Linked DNA regions of Homo sapiens: all the other regions are linked to region 3. The links are contacts of gene promoters, found by promoter capture Hi-C in blood cells and fetal thymus (Javierre and others, 2016). All regions are on one chromosome and are shown on one strand. Each heading gives the region's core, a stretch centred on a gene start or on the middle of the fragment in contact. The rest is flanking DNA. Distances are from core to core; before and after follow the strand shown. Region 1 holds the start of KLRB1 (killer cell lectin like receptor B1). Region 2 holds the start of CLEC1B (C-type lectin domain family 1 member B). Region 3 holds the start of KLRF1 (killer cell lectin like receptor F1).

Region 1 (3,917 bases), core at 353-2,852, 220 kb before region 3:
TTCTGCCTCAGTTTCTAGTTTCTTCCCATCCATCCACAGGCCATGCTATCCATCATGTGTTACCTCACATTGGTGTTCCCCGCTTCTTTCACTCAGAATGCTAACTCTTCAGAGACACAGGAAAGTGCCAGTTTCAACAAATGGTAAGTAGGTTCGTTACTGATATGCTCGAGTATTTTTGTGGCTTGTCTCTTTCTAAGCTGTGATACTTTTCAAACTAGAAACTATCAGGTAGTAATGATATTCAAATCTTTGATCTTGAATATGATTTTTTTTCCAGAAAGTGTTCCCCTCTCTTGAGAGAGTGAAGTATGTTACTCATTAAGCCTACACTTTATATATATATATATAAAATATATAAAATATATGTATAAAAAGTATATATATATATATAAAATATATAAAATATATGTATAAAAAGTATATATATATATATATATATATATATTTTTTTTTTTTTTTTGAGATAGTCTTGCTGTGTCACCCAGGCTGGAGTACAGTGGCACAATTACAGCTCACTGCAGCCTTGATCTCTTGGGCTCAAGCAATCCTCTCACCTCAGCCTCCCGAGTAGCTAGGACCACAGGCACGTGCCCCACACTTGGCTATTTTTTTGTATTGTTTGTAGAGATGAGGTTTTGCCACATTGCCCAGGCTGGCCTTAAACTCCTGGACTCAAGCAAATCACCTTAGCCTACCAAAGTGTTGGGATTACAGGCATGAGCCACTGCAACTGGCCTACACGTTGTATTCTGAAAGGAATATTATGGATGAAAATGCACTGGGACTTAATCATAGTATTGATATTTTGTAGAGGAATTTGGAATAACGTAGGTTGTTATTACAGCAAGTTTGCAATGTGTCTTAAATATTCCTTAGTTCATACATGTAAAATATTTTTCCTTCCTTCCTTCCATCCTTCCTTCCTTCCTCCTTCTCTTTTTCTTTCTTTCCTTTCCTTTCTCTCTCTTTCTTTTTCTTTCTCTCCTTTCTTTCTTTCTTCTTTTCTTTCTCTTTCTTTCCTTTCTTTCTTTCTTTCTTCCTTTCTTTCTTTCTTTCTTTCTTTCTTTCTTTCTTTCTTTCTTTCTTTCTTTTCTTTCTTTCTTTCTTTCTTCCTTCTTTCCATCCCTGTAGAGCAGGGGTAACCAATAGGCAGTGTGCCCAGGGTAGCCTAAAGTGTTCAGAGTCTTTTAACCAAGGCTCAGTAAGACAAGTGATGTTTGCTTTTCATGCTAACTTGATTGAAAAAAATAAATGTATGAGGTTTAAATTTTTTTTCCCAAAGTTGTGATTATCTACAGGCAAGCCATGCAACACCCGTTAAACATTAATATAAAACTACTGCTCATCTTTAAAGCAATGATTTAAAGCCATAAATGTAACAGGAAGATCTAATTCTGGAAGACATACAAATGCCGAAAGGAAAATTAAAGCCACTTACCCCGAGGAAGAGATGAAGGTGAAGAACTTTCTGGGCCTGAGTCTGTGGGTAAGTTTAACTCAGCATATATTGCTTGTTGGTCCATGGCAGACAGAGGAAGGTGGCATTAAACTTGTGTGTAAGAACAAACTCTCAATTCTGTGAGGCAAAATCAGCAAAAGGAAGCTTTCTGCCTGCAGTACTTTGTTGTCTCTCTTTTGTCCCCACCCACATACACTTTTTGTTGGTGGTTATCTCCATAAATTACTGAGACAATCCACTGACTGCATGTTCATTATACCTAGCTATGTAATATCTACTTTCCTTAATTAACTGGCCTGTTGTTTGAGAAAATTCTGGGAGGCTCATTTGTTCTTGTTTTTCTAACCATCCCTTTTGTGTTCCTCTCTCAGGGCCAGGACCAGAGTGAAGCAAATGAGGCATAGCCTGGGGTTCCAATTTAAGGGGCCCCCAACAAAACTCACTAATTAACAGAAATAATATTTAGCACAATTTTGTAAAAGTAAAAATTAATGCAAAAAAGTCCATAATGCTATTCAAAGGCTCTAAAATCTTCCTGAAATATCTGTGCTCCAAAGAAAGTTGTGAAATGTGAAAAATGGAAACATAAATGTGAGAAAGCCCCCTGAATAACACAACAGAAAAAGCAATGTGCTAAAGATCAGTAGCCTACTGTTAGCTTAGCTCTAAAGGCACTCTTGGATATGATAGCATTTTCACATAAGTAAAAGTATTTGGAAACTGCCAGAATTGTAGGAAGTGGAGTATATGGAATTTTTTATCTCTTTGAAAGACTTTCTTTTTTTTTCAAGGTGATTATAGTATGTGTCTACTTTTTTTTTTTTACCTTTTTTTATTATTATTATACTTTAAGTTCACAATGTACAGGTTTGTTACATATGTATACATGTGCCATGTTGGTGTGCTGCACCCGTTAACTTGTCATTTACATTAGGTATATCTCCTAATGCTATCCCTCCCCCCTCCCCCCACCCCACGACAGGCCCCGGTGTGTGGTGTTCCCCTCCCTGTGTCCAAATATTCTCATTGTTCAATTCCAACCTATGAGTGAGAACATGCGGTGTTTGGTTTTCTGTCCTTGCAATAGTTTGCTCAGAATGATGGTTTCCAGCTTCATCCATGTCCCTACAAAGGACATGAACTCATCCTTTTTTATGGCTGCATACTATTCCATGGTGCATATGTGCCATATATTCTTAATCCAGTCTATCATTGATAGACATTTGGGATGGTTCACGAGTCTTTGCTATTGTGAATAGTGCCACAATAAACATATGTGTGCATGTGTCTTTATAGCAGCGTGATTTATAATCCTTTGGGTATATACCCAGTAATGAGATGGCTGGGTCAAATTCTAGTTCTAGTCCCTCGAGGAATCGCCACACTGTCTTCCACAATGGTTGAACTAGTTTAGAGTCCCACCAACAGTGTAAAAGTGTTCCTATTTCTCCACATCCTCTCCAGCACCTGTTTTTTCCTGACTTTTTAATGACTGTCATTCTAACTGGTGTGAGATGGTATCTCATTGTGGTTTAGATTTGCATTTCTCTGATGGCCAGTGATGATGAGCATTTTTTCATGTGTCTGTTGCCTGCATAAATGTTTTCTTTTGAGAAGTGTCTGTTCATATCCTTTGCCCATTTTTTGATGGGGTTGGTTGATTTTTTCTTGTAAATTTATGTAAGTTCTTTGTAGATTCTGGATATTAGCCGTTTGTCAGATGGGTAGATTGTAAAAATTTTCTCCCATTCTGTAGGTTGTCTGTTCACTCTGATGGTAGTTTCTTTTGCTGTGCAGAAGCTCTTTAATTTAGTTAGATCCCATTGGTCAATTTTGGCTTTTGTTGCCATTGTTATTGGTGTTTTAGTCATGAAGTCCTTCCCATGCCTGTTGCCTGAATGGTATTGCCTAGGTTTTCTTCTAGGGTTTTTATGGTTTTAGATCTAACATTTAAGTTTTTAATCCATCTTGAATTAATTTTTTATAAGGTGTAAGGAAGGGATCCAGTTTCAGCTTTCTATATATGGCTAGCCAGTTTTCCCAGCACCATTTATTAAATAGGGAATCCTTTCCCCATTTCTCGTTTTTGTCAGATTTGTCAAAGATCAGATGGTTGTAGATATGTGGTATTATTTCCGGGGGCTCTGTTCTGTTCCATTGGTCTATATCTCTGTTTTGGTACCAGTACCATGTTGTTTTGGTTGCTGTTGCCTTGGAGTATAGTTTGAAGTCAGGTAGCGTGATGCCTCCAGCTTTGTTCTTTTGACTTAGGTTTGTCTTGGCAATGTGGGACCTTTTTTGGTTCCATATGAACTTTAAAGTAGTTTTTTCCAATTCTGTGAAGAAAGTCATTGGTAGCTTGATGGGGATGGCATTGAATCTATAAATTACCTTGGGCAGTATGGCCATATTCACAATACTGATTCTTCCTATCCGTAAGCATAGAATGATCTTC
Region 2 (3,797 bases), core at 1,043-3,542, 170 kb after region 3:
AATGTTGAAAAGTGTGGAGGGGCTATAAAGAACAAATTAAGAAATACACAGAACTGACGCCTGAGGGTTAATAAGTGAACTGTTTGAAGGAGACAATCACAAATAAAAAATCCCAACATCGATAACATCCCCAGAGCCTGTATTCATTTGCTTGAATACAAGCTTCTCAGCTGAGTTATAGAGGTGAATGACCTCTTATTTTCTGTTCTTTCTGTGATGCCAAACTATTCATTCATTTAAAAATACATACTGATTTCTTGTTATGCTTAAAGTACTTGTGATATTCAGGTAAATAATAAAGAAATACAAGAGGATAAATGTTAGATTCTAACATCTTTTAAAAAAATCAACAAATACACAAACAAGCAACAACTACACAGACTTCAATGTGCTATTGGAGGGCCATGAGAATTACAGAAAGAAGAAATGCACAGTAACTTAGTAAACAAAATGAGAAACAGAAAATTTTAGGTAGAGAGAATAGAATGAGAAAAATTTCAGACAAGGGAACATGGAATTTATATATGAAATTGAAAAACTCCAGTTTGGCTGGTTCTTAGGAATGCAAGATAGGAAAAGGGATGAAAAAGTTTTTAAAAATAGTTTGGATCCACACTGAGGAGGGTCTTAAAGGCCAGTAGTACATTCTTAAAAATAACTTTTCATTAGTTAAAATCTTAAAATCTTATTTTAATCACAAGGAAACAGTCAGTGTTCTCCTTTATTGAGATTCTCTTGGCAACTATCTGTAGGACAACTGTAGAAGTGATAAACAGACAAATAGCGACCATTGAGAAGCTTAGTGGGATATGCCATGACCCTTCAGTATTACCTTCCTCCAGTCAAATTTCTGGCAGAGTCAACACTTACACCAAATCCCCAGAGCCACCAGCCCGACAACCATCCCCACGCACAGGATCAGCAGAATCAAAGCCATCACACGCCACCAGGAGGAGGATGCAGAGCCAACTGTAGGCATATAATAAAGACATCAAGGAGCAGGCAGTATGGGTTAGCTATGGGGAAGGCTCACCCCTGCCCCTGCCCCTGCCTTCTCAGGGTCCTCCAAGTAATAGAAAGAGCTTTGCTGGCAGATCTCACCTGTGTTCTCCTCATGATCATCAACAATAGGCATGGCCCACCCCTATACCATACATCCATTCTCATCTCCAATGCACTTTACCTCTCCAAGCTGAAATATTACTTGCTGTTAAGGCCTGATGTGTTTGTATTTTTTGTTTTGTTTTGTTTTGTTTTGTTTTGTTTTATGCTCACCCATGCCATAAATAATTGCTTTAATAAACAGCAAATGAAGAATCACACTCATTTGCTCACATATAGAAAATGAAATTTCCACTCTTTTCCGTTATCCCCTTGACTTCTATGCCCTCGAGTATTAAACGCTCAGAATCTTAATGCAATTTTCCCTGCACATATATTGGATGTTTGTAATCTAAATAGGTCTGTATGAGCTTATGAAAACACTACTCAAATGCTTTAGAGCATTAACATCATTCAAGAAAAAGAAATTAAACTATATATATTATCAATAGTAGAAAAAGAAAGAATTGAATCAACTCATTTTTTAAATTAATTTCCAAATTATTGGCTCTGAGCATTCTTACCGGAGATGAGAGCTGGTTTCCGAGTTTTAATATTTAAGGTGATGTATCCATCTTCATCCTGCATGGCTTCCCGAGTACTGCAACTGAGCTCAGAGTTCAATGACTTTGCAAAATGTAGTTTCCAACTTTACAATTTCAGTATCTGTCAGTTTATGATCTTCCTGTCTTTAGTAGGGTAGAACCATGTGAGATGGGACACATTTGTTTTCCTTTGCTTATTGTTTTCCAGGAAGCTTCTTCATAGCTGCTCAGAGATACATGGACCTTGAACACAAAAACACAAAAATAATAATAACTTGTGGTAAAGGAGTAGATAAGGTATTTGCTTCCTGCTTTTTTTTTATCTTCAACACTAAATAAAGGGACATTCCATCATGTGCATCCTTTCTAAGAACAAAAGTTCATGCTTTATCTTAGCCCTAGCTTAGTCTAAATTACATTGCTCAAATGAGAGATTTCTGCTGAAAATTCATGGATATAGCTCACCAGCAGATATATAGTTTATCTCATTGTGAGAAGCAAGTGTAATATAATTGGATCTGATAGGGGCTAAATTAGCTGTTTCATAGTCTTGTGTTGGAAGAGATCATTCCTGATTATGACCTAGAATTTACACAACTTCTTGCATATTTCATACTTTTTTTTATTTGAAGGATCCACATGAGGCAGGCCTGATATTGCTTAGATTTAGGTATTGAAGGAAAACTATCAAATCAAGTAAAATAATACAGAGTTGGTGACTTGCTGCATTGTTCTTTAGTAGTGTTTGTGCTTTAAAGTGAGTTTCCTGGAATGGAAGAATTTTGATTTGATGAAATCACTTCATTTCAAGTACAGCTGTGCTTAGATGAATATTTGAGACTGAATGGTTCCTAGCACCTTTTCATCACAATATAATATGTATTGCACACACTTAACTTTATGAAATGGGCTTTTACATTATTTTAGCTTGCACTGAAAGTAGTTGTAAGAACAGCCATACAAAGCTAGCTGATGCATTTATTATAGGAATATTGGGGAGGATGTTGTCTATTTTGCCATAGGGTAACTCTTACATAGTTTTATGGCAGATTTTTATTTTTGTTAAATCACCATGACTAGCAAAGCTTTAAGTAGTAGGCATTTACCTTATAAATAATTTGAATTCTATTTTTCTTTACTTAGCAGAGTGTTAGACTTTTCAATATAGTGATTATGTGGGCTGCAGTAGCAGATATTTTGTTTATTAACATGCCCTTTGGCATAGCCCGTAGATTTTTTCTCCCCTGCTATCTCCTTCACTCTGAATTTCTTGTCAATTCACTTAAAATTATCTTTCATTCTAAATTTCTTTCTCTATACTCTTCAAATTATTTTGAGAATGAGGTGAAGAATAAGCATAACACGTATAAAAGACATTCCCTGATTTTGGAAAGCCAAACTTAGTATGATTCAAATATTTTTACCAAAACTAATTCTTAATTAAAAAAAAACACATTTGAAATAAATGCCAAATTTTAAGAAAAGACTAAAAATTTTTAAAAAACATTAAATCCCAACACCATTTTTGTTGCTGTGTTTCTTATCTCAGTTAAAATATTCAGGGGTTCCCAATCATAAGCTGGGTAAATTCAGTCACTTACCATTCATCTACCACTGCTTCTGTTCTCATAACTTCTGTTTCAGCTAAAAGGGATTCTTCGCTCTCCCATCATTTATCCTCAGGCTTTTCTGGAAGATTGGGGTTGGAATGGGGTTTGATCCTCCCTCTCTTCCTTCCTTTCTACATCTACTCATCAGCAAGTCCTGAGGCTATTCTGTCACAGTAACCCCTGTCTTTCACGTTCTTTTGGTCACTGCTTTCCTTCAGTGTTTTGTTACCTAAAATATACAGAAACACTAAAAAATAATCGAATAAATAACTGTGACAAAGTAACAGAGAGAAAAGAAAATGTGTGGAGGTTATAGTACAAATGACACTTTTCCAATAAAGCTTTACTCTGTTCTCTTAGGTACCAAACAGGTACATATGAAAACTTAATTTGTTACATTAAATCAGATATGTAAAGGTAAGATCCAAGGACATTGAGACAATTTTTAAATTATTGTAAACATTTTTTGTTTATTAACAAAAACTTTAAGATGGTATTAAAGAGAACAATTAGATTGCTTTGTTGAGGTTTCCACATTCTC
Region 3 (3,955 bases), core at 207-2,706:
TTTGTCATTAAGCAACAAATATATTTCTGATAATTTGTCAAATATTTTCTCCTTGAATTAATAGTTTATCTTATTTAAAAGGGTATATTGTGTTTTTAAAATTTTATTTTAAATTTGGGAGTACATGTGCAAATTTGTTACATAGGTAAACTTGTGTAATGGGGGTTTGCTGTAAAGATTATTTCTTCACCCAGGTATTAACCCTAGTACCCATTAGTTATTTTTCCTGATCCTTTCCCTCTTCCCACCCTCTATCCTCCAGTAGGCACTAATCATTAGGGAAATGCAAATTAAAACCACAGTAAGATACCATCTCATACCAGTCGAATGGCTATTATTAAAAAGTCAAAAAATAACAGATGCTGATGAGGTAGTGGAGAAAAGGGTTCACTTATACACCTTTGATGGGAGTGTAAATTAGTTCAACCATTATGAAAGATAGCATGGTGATTCCTTAAAGACCTAAAACCAGAAATTTGACCCAGCAATCCCATTACTGGTATATACCCAAAGGAATATAAATCTATCATAAAGACACATGCATGCATCTGTTCATGGCAGCACTGTTGACAATAGCAAAGACATGCAATCAACCTAAATGCCCATCAATGGTAGACTGGATAAAGAAAATGTGATACACATATACAAAGGAATACTATGCAGCTATAAAAAAGAATGAGATGATGTCCATTGCAGGAACATAGATGAAGCTAGAGGCCGTTACCCTTAACAAACTAATGGAGGAACAGAAAACCAAATACCACATGTTCTCACTAATAATTGGGATCTAAATGATGAGAACACATGTACACATAGAGGAGAATGACAGACACCGGAGCCTACTTGAAGGTGGAGGGTGAGAGGAGGGGCAGGATCAGAAAAACATAACTATGTAGTACTAGTCTGAATACCTGGGTGATGAAATAATATGTACAACAAACCCCTGTGACATGATTTTACCTATATAACAAACCTACACATGTAGCCCTGAACCTAAAAGTTAAAAAAAATCAAATTATACTGTTAAATTATTAGCATGATTTATAAACAATATTGTTTTAGGATAAAGAATTTAATTGCTTGGCAATTGCAAATTATTAAATTAAATATCAATATGTTAGGGAGGCTAATTCAAATGATATAAATATTTAGGCTATAACAAAAGGCAGCTATATATTATTAACCTCACCTCAAAAAGGGGCATAATTTCCATTCCCTTGACTTTAAGGGTAAATTAAGAGAAATTTGTAAAGCACTCAAAAGAATATTCAATTCAATATGTGGTGGACAGTTGAGAAATTATGTGTTATCTATGTCATGGGAAAGCAACTTTTAAAAAGAAAACATTTCCTCTGAGGTTTTCACAAATAAGTGAAACTGTGAACCCTCATATGTACTGTGAAAGGACAATTTGAGGAGCATCTCTGATTAGCAGCAGATTTATTATTCTTTCCTCATTTCATGTTATACTTAATAAAACAAAACATACCTGTATACACACACATTCACTCACATTGAAGATGCAAGATGAAGAAAGATACATGACATTGAATGTACAGTCAAAGAAAAGGAGTTCTGCCCAAACATCTCAACTTACATTTAAAGGTATGGAATTTAATTTCATTTTTTCAATTGGTGTGAATTAACATGGTAGTTTCCCGTATCCTGTTCCATTGTGTTATTGGACTGTTTCAGTATTTGGGTGCTTTTCTTTCTCCGTCTCTGTATCTCTCTCACCTGTCCTCTCTTTCAATATTAATAATGATTTAAAAATAACAACCTCTCTTACCATTTAAGAAACACCAGTTTCCGGCACTATACAGAATGTTTTATCTATGTTCCTTCATTTAATCTTACAAATTTACTATGAGATAATCTCTCTCTCTCCCATTTATCAATGTGGAACTAACACTTACTTGTAATATTTTGTCTGATATAATTTCTTAAGGACATTCTCTGAGGAAATATGCATACTCAATTAAAATTAATAATTTCAAATTAGTGAATATTTGCTGCCATTCACCTCCTTATCATTCATAGAATATGGTGTTTTAATGCTATTTTTTTTTTTTGAGACGGAGTTTCACTGTTGTTGCCCAGGCTGGAGTGCAATGGCATGATCTCGGCTCACTGCAACCTCTGCCTCCCAGGTTCAAGCAATTCTCCTGCCTCAGCCTCCTGAGTAGCTGAGATTATAGGTGCCCGCCACCATGCCTGGCTAATTTTTTGCGTTTTTAGTAGAGATGGGGTTTTACCATGTTGGCCAGGCTGGTCTTGAACTCCTGACCTCAGGTGATCCACCCACCTGAGTCTTCCAAAGTGTTGGGATTATAGGCATGAGCCACCGCGCCCAGCCTTTAATACTAATTTTTAATTCAACTTCTCAAAAACTTTATGCTTTTCACCAAGTTGACTCAAAATAAAGTTTATACACCAGCAATCAACATTTTAATTTGCTACTTCAAGCATACCCTCCATACACAATGCAATTCCATCATGCCACCTTAATGTGATTTGGCAAAAGAGATAAGCAGAAATTAAAGACACAAATAATCACAGTTATAGAGACTGTCTGTTCTGTTCTGTTGCTTTCTAAATATTTCTCTTTTAATAACTTCACCCATGAAAATTTTACTTATCTCTTGAGTCCTTCCACAAGTATCATCCATCAGTGATTCATCTTAGAGTTACATACGTGCTATGTATAAGAAATTTATTGCCTCTTCCATGTGAATTTTTAGATTCCCATATTTTCAAGTCTTTACTTCCTACACTCAATTTTTATTTCATTTTTGGAAATTAGAGATATTAAACCTGAAAGACTACAACATGTAGTGACTTCTCTGCAGACTTTTTTCCACACTCTGTTCATAAATGTCTCTCTGAAGCAAAAATGTGCAGATTTTCGGCTCCCAGATATTTAAGTGACACATACTAATATTTATGTCTTGTACCTTTAGCTAATATTTATTAAAGCTTGAGGTAAGACGTATTTTATGTGAATTAGATTGACAATGTGAGCCTTGGGGTTATGATGTTCATTCATTTAACTTAATTTTGTGATGACATATTTGTAAATCTTTTCTCATATATTGAAAAACCTTTGTTGCCAGTGATAGTAAGAAATTACATAATTGCTCTATCCCACTATACATATGTAGTAGTTTCAGAATCACTATAGAAATAATATTATAATAATAGTTACTTAAAACAGATTAAAATGTTTTGCGGTTTTAAAAAATCCTTAAGATATATTCCATTGAGCATGCACAGTTAAATGTTTTAAAATCACTTTAAGTAATTCCTCTCTCTATAGTGAAGACACTAACAATACCTAGTTAGATTCCTTTTCTTCATTTTTTATGGATTTTTTTTCATTTTTGTTTAACTTACTTTATAGTAGCATAAAACATTTACATATTTTCAGTCAAACTTATATAATGAGGGGCCAAGTGTGGTGGCTCATGCCATTAATCCCAGCACTTTGGAAGGCCGAGGCAGGATGATCGCTTGAGGCCAGGAGTTCAAGACCTGCCTGGGCAACAAATCAAGACCCCCATCTCTACAAACAATAGAGATAAAAAAATTAATCAGTCATGGTGGCACATGCCTGTAGTCCTAGCTACACAGGGTGCTCAGGAGGGAGGATCTCTGAGCCCAGGAGCTCAAGGTTACAAAGAGCTCTAATGGTGCCACTGCACTCCAACCTGAGCAACAGAGCGAGACCCTGTCTCAAATAAATAAATAAGAATTTAAAAAGTTTAAAAAATTACTTTCAGAGAAATCCACCTTGCATAAATCCAGCACCCTTCATAAAATTTACCATTTTGTATTTCTATATTTCCAGTGTTTACTTAGCTATTCTCACTCTTTTGTTCTTTCAGATAACTTTATAAAAAATTATTCAGGCTCACTCACCACAAACAACAACAAATAAAACAACCCGATGTAGCTT

The links. The method cuts DNA at HindIII sites, captures the fragments that hold promoters and counts their contacts. A CHiCAGO score of 5 or more calls a contact.
Region 1: the fragment with the promoter of KLRB1 here is called in contact with the fragment with the promoter of KLRF1 in region 3 in 2 of 17 cell types (naive B cells and activated CD4 T cells); the score reaches 6.0 in naive B cells.
Region 2: a fragment that was not itself captured here is called in contact with the fragment with the promoter of KLRF1 in region 3 in 1 of 17 cell types (activated CD4 T cells); the score reaches 7.2 in activated CD4 T cells.

What each region holds. Positions count from the first base shown.
Region 1 is chr12:9,606,314-9,610,230 of GRCh38, forward strand. It overlaps KLRB1 (killer cell lectin like receptor B1), which reads right to left and starts at 1,603. Exons shown (of 6, transcript NM_002258.3): 1 at 1,442-1,603. The coding sequence starts at 1,526. The HindIII fragment of the contact is 4,730 bases long and covers 1-1,604 here.
Region 2 is chr12:9,997,412-10,001,208 of GRCh38, forward strand. It overlaps CLEC1B (C-type lectin domain family 1 member B), which reads right to left and starts at 1,710. Exons shown (of 6, transcript NM_016509.4): 1 at 1,626-1,710; 2 at 871-969. The coding sequence starts at 1,689. It also overlaps a transcript of CLEC12A not described here. The HindIII fragment of the contact is 873 bases long and covers 1,857-2,729 here.
Region 3 is chr12:9,826,025-9,829,979 of GRCh38, forward strand. It overlaps KLRF1 (killer cell lectin like receptor F1), which reads left to right and starts at 1,457. Exons shown (of 6, transcript NM_016523.3): 1 at 1,457-1,605. The coding sequence starts at 1,521. The HindIII fragment of the contact is 7,114 bases long and covers 1-2,974 here.